Linked DNA regions of Homo sapiens: region 2 is linked to region 1. The links are contacts of gene promoters, found by promoter capture Hi-C in human tissues and cell types (Jung and others, 2019). All regions are on one chromosome and are shown on one strand. Each heading gives the region's core, a stretch centred on a gene start or on the middle of the fragment in contact. The rest is flanking DNA. Distances are from core to core; before and after follow the strand shown.

What was found. The method cuts DNA at HindIII sites, captures the fragments that hold promoters and counts their contacts. A contact is called where the count stands out against the background at its distance.
Region 2: a contact is called between a fragment that was not itself captured here and the fragment with the promoter of MAP2K5 in region 1, in 1 of the 25 tissues and cell types used here (dorsolateral prefrontal cortex).

What each region holds. Positions count from the first base shown.
Region 1 is chr15:67,539,246-67,544,312 of GRCh38, reverse strand. MAP2K5 (mitogen-activated protein kinase kinase 5) reads right to left here and starts at 1,610. Exons shown (of 22, transcript NM_145160.3): 1 at 843-1,610. The coding sequence starts at 977. It overlaps MAP2K5-DT (MAP2K5 divergent transcript), which reads left to right and starts at 1,683. Exons shown (of 1, transcript NR_186334.1): 1 at 1,683-3,245. RefSeq lists a silencer at 1,475-1,594 and enhancers at 2,468-2,517, 2,170-2,670, 4,704-4,793. The HindIII fragment of the contact is 7,088 bases long and covers 1-2,702 here.
Region 2 is chr15:67,075,586-67,081,165 of GRCh38, reverse strand. The region is part of intron 1 of SMAD3 (SMAD family member 3); the gene reads right to left. Among named protein-coding and RNA genes, the nearest start is that of SMAD3, 13 kb to the right of the region's middle. The HindIII fragment of the contact is 3,879 bases long and covers 606-4,484 here.

The sequences.
Region 1 (5,067 bases), core at 361-2,860:
TACTTTTACCGTCTCTGAAACTGGACTCATTTTAATAACGGATGATGTGTCATACTGTCATGGTTAGCATTTTTTTCTAAGTAAAATGTCTTACATTCAATGATGCTTTAAGTTTGCTCAGGCTGGGCACAGTAACTCACACCTGTAATCTCAGCACTTTGGGAAGGCCGAGGCAAGCAAATCGCAGGAGTTCAAGACCAGCCTGGGCAACATGGCAATACCTCGTCTCTACAAGATACAAAAATTATCCAGGTGTGATGGCATGTGCCAGCTACTTGGGAGGCTGAGGTAGGAGAATCGCTTGAGCCCAGGAGGCAGAGGCTGCAGTGAGCCGAGATCGTGCCACAGCACTGCAGCCTGAGCGACAGAGTGAGGCCCTGTCTCAAAATAAATTAATGAAACAGTGTGCTCAAACATGGTAAGTTAAAGTTGTCCTTTTTCCCTTTCTCAGCTGGTCACCAAGTTCAGAGAACTCAGTAGAAAAACAAGGCTGGAATCTGTCCAAGGACATTCCCCGAAACACTTGGGGGGAAAAAACCTCTCTTCTAGATTCAGCAGTTTGCATTTGCGTGGTTGTGTCTATATGTGTGTCCCAGCCCGGGCCATGAGCTCTCTGAGGGCAGGGGTTCAGTCAGATTGATCTATCTCCCCAGGGTCCTAGACATTTGCCAGGTTTTAGTGGTTGCAATTTATCAATGCTGTGCCTGAAGCAATAAAACTGCCTCCACAGGAAGCCAGCAGTAGCCATTGCCACTGGCTCAGGTCACCAGTGGTCAAGGTGCTGACTACTCAAGTCCCTGAGTCCCCCTTGCTGGCATCCGGACACTGAGATTACCACTCACCAGCACATCCCTGAAGAGTAACTGCGGCCCGGAGTGCACTGTCCAGTCCACCGCGCCACTATTTGGGATCTTGATGCGAATTACCAGCACCTGGTTCTCCATGGCAGGAAAGGGGCCAAGGGCTAGCCACAGCATTACAGGTTAAAGAGGCTCACATCCTGGGGTATGGGAAACCCACTGGCCGCTGGTTAGGAGGGGGCTCCAAGAGGTGACAAGGGGAGTGACGGGCAGAGGACAGAGGGTGAAAACAAGGGAATGGAGGATGAGGGGGAGGGAAGAGGGGAGGGGTGATCAGGAACGCACCCGCAGGCACCGAGCCTGCCCAGGCTGTCGGGGGTCTGAGGTGTCTCCCGGGGAGGGTGCACCGGGAAGCGGGCAAAGGCCCGCAGGAACTAGCGGAGGTCGGAAGGTTCTGGAGTTGAGCGAACGCTATGGTGAAGGTCTCTGCCGCCGTGTGGGTATGAGGAGGCAGCAGGGCAAGGACTCGGTTTGGGGGAGATACAGCGGCAGGTGTCCACCGCTCGTCAGTGGACTAGGAGAGGGTCCTCGACTGGAGGGGACTCAGTCCGGGGCTATTAAGAAAGAGCCCCAGGGCCGCCACACCACGGAGAGTCCCCGCGGGAGGTTCAAGGGGCGAGTCTTCTGCCCCACCCGGAGACACAGGGCGCGGCGCGCGCAGGCTGAGCTCCGGCCACCCGAGGCCGCGCGGACTGGCGGCGGCTGCGGCGGCGGCGACGGCGGTAGCGGCGAGAGGAGGAGGAGGAAGGCGGCGGCGACACTGTTACTCCGGAACCAAAACGCGCGGCGCCGGAACCCCGGGAGCCGACGAGCGGGACCCGCCTCCCGCGGCGCCATGTTGGAAAAGGGCAGCAGCTCCCGGGAGGATGCGCCCCCGGCGTGGGAAGCCGAGGAACCGGCGCGCGGCGCGCGGCGCGTGGCGCGTGGCGAGTCGGGGAGAGACTGGTCTTGCTCGCTCAGGAGACCCTCATCGCCCACAGAGCGCCCGCGGCGACCCGGTCACGGCCCTTCCATTTCCTGACCCTGCTTAATGACAGCGAGGTGAAAACATCTACCAAACGAAGGGTAAAAGGCTGGAGTCCGCCAAAAGCCAATTTAAGGCTTAACATTGCAGACCGTTTGTCTTTACAAAAGCTTCAAAGACGGGGCTGCAGCTCCCGGTTATCCCCACTTTGTCAAGCCATGAATCTGAATGTTCGTGGGGTTGTGTGCATCGAATCAGCAAGAGCAAGGCAAGAATTCAAGAAATAGTTCTTTTTTATCCCCCCTTCCAAGTCACAGGTTCAGAGGATCATCATCTTTCTCCCACATTAGCAAAACATATTTGCATTTTTCAGTGAAGTTCTTTACCGCACGAGTGCCCTAAAATAGCAAACAGTTCCCTGTTCAAAAGCAATAGTAAAGAAATTCGCCGAAGAGTTTAATTGCCTGGGGACAGCTGCAGTAGTCGCATCATCGTCTCTTATTAAACTGTTGCAGAAATATTCGGTCTAGTCCATGTATTTTCAACTAAATAGCACTGCTTACGCAGTTGGTGATATGGTGATATCACGGAAGTAGCAATAAACCTTGGTTATCTTTTTTTTTTTTTTTTTTGAGACGGAGTCTCGCTCCGTCGCCCAGGCTGGAGTGCAACGGCGCGACCTCTACTCACCACAACCTCAGCCTCCCGGATTCAAGCGATTCTCCTGCCTCAGCACTACCACCCCCACCAGCCCCCAACCCCTGCCGAGTAACTGGGACTACAGGCGTGCGCCATCCGTGCCCGCTCATTTTTGTATTTTCAGTAGAGACTGGGTTTCACTATGTTGGCCAGGCTGGTCTCAAACTCCTGACCTCGTGATCCGCCCACCTCAGCCTCCCAAAGTGCTGGGGGGATTACAGGTGTGAGCCACCGCGCCCGGCCAACCTTGGTTATCTTCAAATGCCTTGTTACCTCAGATTTTAAAGTGCATAAGGTTGTAGAACGATGGTGCCTCTACAGAAGTTTCTTTACAAATTGTAATGTGTAGGTTCGTCCTTTATTTCTTTCTTATGAAGGTGCACGAATTGGCTTTACTTTCTGGGGTTGAATTTTGTATAAACTCGGTTGAGGAGGCTTGTCAGTTTCCCTTCTAACAGTAAGGTGCTTGATTAATGTGAGAGAAAAAAATTAATGTTGGTCATTTTCAGTTACAATACCAAAATTTTTTCTGCATACTTTACTCTGAGTTACTTTTATATTTAATTTGAAAGGCCATTGTAGGAGATAAATTATCACATTTTAAGTTACTGTAAATCAATAGCTTAGGTAGAAATTCATTTAGTCAGATCCTTCAGATATTCTAGGAATTTCCCCTTTTCACCTGCACTTCACTTCTGTGAAAAATAAACCGTTCATCAAAAGTCCTCATGTACTTTTATTAAAAGTTCATTTCCTATTATTTTAGAAAATAGACCACGAAACTAGAGATTTTCTATGAACCTGTGATTTGTTAAAATGTCTCTTTTATTCGAAGTACCGTGGGGAAAACCAACTCAATTTGCCAAATTTGCATACATATTCTGAAGCTTTTCTTACACTAATGGCAAACTCATATTTCTGTTCCAATATTTGCAGAGCCAATATAATTACACGTCAGCTCTTCATAGCCTTTATGTAGTAAGAAATCTTAACTTTGATGATTTGAGCAAGGATTTTTCCAGAAAGTTATAACTCTCATTGCGAGAAGCATCATAATCACTGATAATACATTCCACTTGATATCATAAATGACAAAATATAACTTTCTGATCTTTACCAAATTGAATACTGTCTAAATTTAAGGAATATTTAGTATTTAACATCGAAGTTGCATGTGATCTTAAGAAGTTTGCATTTAGTACTTTTTTTCATTTTATTTTATTTTATTTATTTATTTTGAGACGGAGTCTTACTCTGTCACCCAGACTGTAGTGCACTGGCGCAGTCTCGGCTCATTGCAACCTCCACCTCCCAGGTTCAAGCGATTCTCCTGCCTCAGCCTCCCAAGTAACTAGGACTATAGGTATGTGCCACCACGCCCAGCTAATTGTTGTACTTTTAGTAGAGACGAGGTTTCACCATGTTGGCCAGGCTGGTCTGGAACTCCTGACCTCAAGTGATCCACCCGTCTCGGCCTCCCAAAGTGCTAGGAATACAGGCGTGAGACAGCGCGCCAGGCCTTTTTTCTTGTTAAATGATACAAGTCAGAATAGTCACTCAGGTACTGGCTGAGATAGTTTACTAGCCATTAAGCAAACTTACTGTAAAAAAAAAACTGTGCTTACTTGTAGTGTTCCTACTTGAGGGATTTACTTTTCACTAAGTGTAATAGAAAATCCCTCCCCTCATGAAGTTATATTCTGATGGGGAACACAGACAAATGAGTAAAATATATGTTAGATAGTAGTAAATGCTAACAGAAAAATGAAATCAGAAGGGAAAATGGTAAAACAGTAAGTGCACCAGTGTGATAACACTAAGGAATATGAAAACTGGCCTATATTGGCTTCAGTTAACTGGCAAATTTAACTGAAAATAGACACATTACTGAAAAGTTAGATGTCTAGTGATTTTTTTCCTTGTGATAAAATACACATAAAATTTACCATTGTACTCATTTTGAAGTGTGCAGATCAGTAGTGTTACATACATTCATTCATCCTGTTGTACAGCCAATCTCCAGATTTTCATCTTGCAAAACTGAAACTCTATATTCATTAAACAACTGCCCACTTCCCCTTCCCTCCAGCCCCTGGCAACCACCAATCAACTTTCTATTTCTATGAATTTGACTACTCTAGATACCTCATATAAATAGAATCATCCAGTATCTGCCTTTTTGTGACTGGCTTATTTCACTTGGTATAATGCCTTCAGGGTCCATCATGTTGTAACATGTGTCAGCATTTCCTTACTTTTTTTTTTTTTTTTAAGATGTACTCTTGCTGTGTCATCAACACTGGAGTGTAGTGGCATGATCTAGGCTCCACCTCCTGGGTTCAAGCAATTCTCCCACTTCAGCCTCCCAAGTAGCTGGGATTACAGGTGCCCACCACCACACAAGGCTAATTTTTGTATTTTTAGTAGAGACAGGGTTTCACCATGTTGGCCAGATTGGTCTCGAACTCCTGACCTCAGGTGATCCACCCACCTTGGCCTCCCAAAGTGCTGGGGTTACAGGCATGAGCCACCACCCCTGGCCAT
Region 2 (5,580 bases), core at 1,296-3,795, 460 kb after region 1:
CATCGTGTTCTATTTATAAGACCCAGCTGAGCCACAAAGGCTAACGACAGGGGCACTGTAGTATCAGCTGAAGCTCTCCAAACAGGTGCCAAGTTTGGTTTGAATTTATATTTCACATTTCTCAGGCTGAAACCGTTCCTCTCTGTCATTCCAACTGCTCTCCTTGGAGCTCACCCGACATGGCCTCGCCCACAGCAACAGTCTGGTTGGAGAGTTGAGAGAACTCAAGTCCCTCTCCAGACTTCCAATAAATTATCTGGGGCAAGAGAAGGAGGATGAGGTTTGGATGATCGCGGAAACAAACCCTGAGAGCCCAAAGCAGGAGTGAAACAGCACAGCCCTTACATGTTCTCTGCAGAATTCCGTTGGCAGGGAGGGGTTATTCGGGGCCACGTGCTTGCTCCGCAGCGGCCCTGGCACATTCCATGCACTGACCACAATCAAAGAGAAAGAAAAGGCATGCTTACTGTTATTTTTAATTCCTTCCTCAAGGCCTTCCAAAATTCTTCAGCAGGATTATCCACTAAACTTTCACCACTCCCAGCCAATAGTCCCTTTGAAGCCCAGAGCTAAAGTAAAGTGGAGAGCAGGAAAAGTCAGGTCCCAGAAGTCTCTGCTCTTGGCCATTAAATATCATCCAAGTTGCACTGGGCCTAGTGGCATCTCCCGGACTTCAAAGGGACAGGGCCTGATGATGGTGCCGACATAGTAGAGCCACGTGAATGCCCTGCCACTGCCACCCCCACCTGCTCCATACACACCTGACCTTGACCTCCACCTCCTTTCCCTTCAGTAGTAGACATCAGCATAGCCAAATGTTCCCTAACTCATACTCCAGTTAATTAAGCTCTAGTGCTAACTTTACCATGTTTTCAACATCTCGTCCAGTTTTAAAATATTACATTGCCAACTTGTTGCATGACCTTGGGCAAGTCCTTTCACTTAGAATAGCAGGACATAATTTGCACATTCCCTTCCACTTAAGCAACAGCACATGAGCTGGCGGATCCAATTCTCCATTACCTTGGTCAGGTATCAAGACCAGAGGCAGGGTGACTATTACCCAGGTTTGCCTGGACGGTCCTGATTTATGGCCAAGGACCGTAATTAATAGTGGCCATAATTAATAATGCTGCCCCTTTTCACTCTTGGAAACATCCTGGTTTGTTTGATAAATTATGTAGTCACCCTAGATTCTAGAAGGTGTAGAGCTTCAGTGGCAAATCCAGCTCCAGCCCTTAGCCTGAGACTTAAAGCAACTTACCTAAGTAATCTGAACCTTGTTTCTGTCATTTACCAAATGAGAATAATGATAGCAGTGTCATAGCTTTTTGTATGAGGACAACAATGGCCATCCTTTCTTGAGGGGCTATGGGGTAGAGCTCAGAGAACTAGGAACCAGAGACCAGAGTTAAGATTCCTGTTCTGCCACTGACCCCTCAATGCTTCAGCCTCCTCCTCTGTAAACATAAATACATAAGTACCCAGAGTACTGTAGGTAAGTAAATAAGATCAAGGAGATCACCCCCTCTGGCATACACTCAGCATGCAGTTGACACTCAGTCCATGCAACACGTACCAGGATCACCCCATGTGAGTGGGCTTAGGTGATTTGCTAACAGTCAACACTGCTGACTCGACCATCTTCTGAGTCAAATGCTTGGACATGGCCAAGAGTAACAGCTCACCTAAGCTTCTAGTACAAGGCACCAGAGCCTATGTGCCCCGAGCTCATATTCCAATATAATTTTGTGCAATATTTATGATTGTCTCTAAGGTCTCTGTGGAAATCTGGGTGTGAACTTAGAAGCCTTAACTCCCATCTCTGTCAGAAAGGGTTTTTAGCAGTATTAGTGAGTTCTACACCATAAAGAAATAATATGCGGGGGGCGAGGTGCGGTGGCTTACACCTGCAATCCCAGCAATTTGGGAGGCTGACGCGGGCAGATCACCTGAGGTCGGGAGTTCGAGACCAGCCTGACCAACATAGAAAAACCCCGTCTTTACTAAAAATACAAAATTAGCCAGGCATGGTGGTGCATGCCTGTAATCCCAGCTACTCGGGAGGCTGAGGCAGGAGAATAGCCTGAATCCGGGAAGCAGAGGTTGCCGTGAGCCAAGATCACGCCTTTGCACTCCAGCCTGGGCAACAAGAGCGAAACTCCGTCTCAAAAAAAAAAAATAATAATATGTGACATTGCAAAACATTTCACAGCTTGCAAGAAGCTTTTAATCTAAAATAAATCTAATCTGATTTAAGTAAATAACTTCAATAACATCCCTCCTTGAGGGAGGTCATTGTTTTTCCCATTTTACTGATGAGGAAAAGGAAGCTCAAATAAGTTAAACAACATGTCCACAGTCACCACCGCAGTAAGTTGGGGAGCAGGGATTTGAACCCAGGGCACTCCGCAGCAATAGGCTGCCCCTGGTCTTGCCTTCAGTTAAGAGGTTTCTAGCAATGTTTTCAAAAACAGCCCATGAAGTAGAATCAGTCCTTGGACATGAAACTCAATCTTTTAAAAACCCAGCAACTTAAACCACCACCACCACCACCAAGCTGACCCTCTAAAGGCGAGGTAAATAATAACCAATCTCTCAATGATAAAAGGAATGAAGAATACTGATTTAAACATGCTGTTTTAGTCTCTCATTAAGGAATATAATCTGTTTTCAATAAACATACATCCTGCTATGGGTCTGCAGTACTGAATTTAGGTAGTTTCCACTGATTGCAGTGTGGTCTGGAATTGGAAAGCCTGGCCTTGATTGATGATCATCAACAAAGAAATTGAAAACACTGACCAGAGACGGTCCATATGAAGGCACTGTGTCAGGCACAGGGAAGACCCAGCAGAGGCCGAGATCTAATTTGGGGGCCTGTGCTTGGGTAGACCAGGCATCTGCATGGAGGCCAGCAACACCCCACTTAGTTTCCCAAGGTATCCATATCAAAAGCCTGACATGACTCACTGGCTAATTACCTGAACGCCTGGGGTCCCTGAGCCCTCCTGGCTGAACAACATGTCTTCTCTCCTGACAGTGAACAAAACACTATCTTCAACCTGCTCCAGACATAGCCTAAAGCTGTCCACATGGTACTGTAAGGGATTATGACTCTGACCTGGATAACTCGGGCAGAAAACCTGCTGTTAACAGCCACTGGGTAAGAGGAGGAAATGAAACAAGAAACGATAGAGTGGTGGCTTTCACCGTGCCACTCCCCTGCTTTAAAATCTCCTGGACACTTACAGAGCAAGGTCCAAACACAAAGTACGAAGTTTGGCAAGCCAAAGCCCTTGACAACATCCTTCTCCAACTCCTCTCTGGCCACTCCCTCATCCACACTCTGGCCACCCTAAACTGTCTTGCCTTCCCTAGATGTCAGGCCCTTCCGCAGTCTGGTCTGTGCTCTGTGCTGCCTCCCACTCCACTCCTACACTCCTATCCATCCTTCAAGGCCCCAATTGAGTATTGCCTCCTCTGTGAAGCCTTCTGATACCTCCAGAAATAGACCTGTTCTTCCTCTAGGCTCCCAAATATTTTGTTTGACCTTCACTATAGTGTCTCTTCCACAGGCCCACCATAACTGTGGTTACTGGTGTCCCTTTTTTGCCTCTGAGCAGTTCAGAGACACAACTTCATCTCTATATCTCTGGTACTTAATAAAGATTTCCAGCAAACAAAGGCACATTCAGTGGTCCAGCTCTCTGCTCCACTTTTTGAATGAGCAGCTATAATATGTAGCACCTTCTCCCTCATCTGCATTAAATTCACTCTGGCCTGGGTTGAGGGTGAGGGAAATCAATTCCTGTGAACATCTCCAAAATGCTACCCATATAATGGTGCCACCTGGACTGGGATTCAGTTGTGGCCACGCAACTGAGCGGATGCTACAAAAATAAATACATACATACATACATACGTACATACATACATACATACAGAAATGCCTGCCCTAAGAGCAAAAATACAGAGGAAGGCCTACACACCATATGTAGTATTTAAAGACAAATCAAGGTAACAAACGGTTACACAGAATGCGTTCTATCATCCTGCCTTGACCAATACTTTAATAAGTCCAGGTTTGAGTTTAGGATTCCCTGACCTCTTGGTTTCACAATGGAATGTGGAAGCTCAGAGAGACCCAGCCCAAGATCTCAGCCCACCCCTAGCACCACCCATAACTTTCAGAGGCCTTGTGCACACCCAAGTAGAGTCCCCAGGCCACAAGTCCAAGCTCTAGCCAATTCCTTCATGCCCCTGCACCCCTTGCCCAGCCATTGGTCCCACAGGTACACATGCTGTCCATGGCCAACACAGTCTGCCCTCAAGTAAAACAGACCTGGGGAAGAGGCCCACGCAGGACTTGGAAACAGGCTCAAGACACTGATGCAGGGAACTGGAAGGGTCAGGCCTCTGAGCATGATCTGGAAAAAGGAAGTGCTTGCTCTAGATGGGCCTGTCCCTTGGCCCTACAGTCTCCTTGCCCCAGTAAGAGGAGCACAGCCAGGTGGAGGGCCAAAGCATGACTCTTGAAGCGTGAGCTCCCTCTTGCACGTATCTGAGGGCAGTCAAGGGTATAGCCACCACGTCTGGGTCATTTCAGAGCCATGAGTTTCTGGACCTGACCATTCTCACTCAACAGCCCACCTAACCAGTAAGCTAGTACTTGAGGGGGAGCCGGAAGTGCATTCCAACTTGGGCCTCAAAAAAACACCAGCAACAATAAACATCATGCACTTCCATGCACTTACGGGCAGCTATCAGTGACAGGCGCGTGAGTCACTGCGTTTCTGCTTCAGGATCTTACCCATCCCCCGCCCCAGGAGACCTGATTCATCGAAGTTTGTTTTTAGTACTATTATTTTTAGTCGACCAAACAAATTTTTAAGAATAATGATAGAGAAGGTGATGGGGGAGGGCAGAACCGCCTAAGAATATGAATTGTTTCTCTTTCAATAGCCTGCCAAGCCTTACATCAACAAGTGGCATGTCTGTATGTTCTCTGTGTGTGTTGAAGTAGATCCTTTTCCTATATCAACTGAGACTCTCCAAAGGAGAATGCTCTGTGAGCAAGTGTGTCGGGATGGGAAGGGGATCACCTATTGGAGTCGACGGACATCATCTGCCAAATTTCCCCTTGGAAAGGAAAAATGAGCGTTTACTAAGCATCTACTATGTATTATGATCGATACTGGCAAAGTACTTGATACATCTTATCTCACTTGCGTTGATTTTTTTTTTTTTTGAGACAGAGTCTCACTCTGTTGCCCAGGCTGGAGTACAATGGTGCGATCTTGGCTCACGGCAAGCTCTGGCTCCCAGGTTCAAGCAATTCTCCTGTCTCAGCCTCCTGAGTAGCTGAAATTACAGGCGCCCGCTACCATGCCCGGCTAATTTTTATATTTTTAGTAGAGCCGAGGTTTCACCATATTGGTCAGGCTGGTCTCAAACTCTTGACCTCAGGTGATCCATCCACCTTGGCCTCCCAAAGTGCTGGGATTATAGGCATGAGCCACCGTGCCCGGCCACTTGGGTTGATTTCTATGAAGTAGGTAGTTTCATCCTCATTTTACA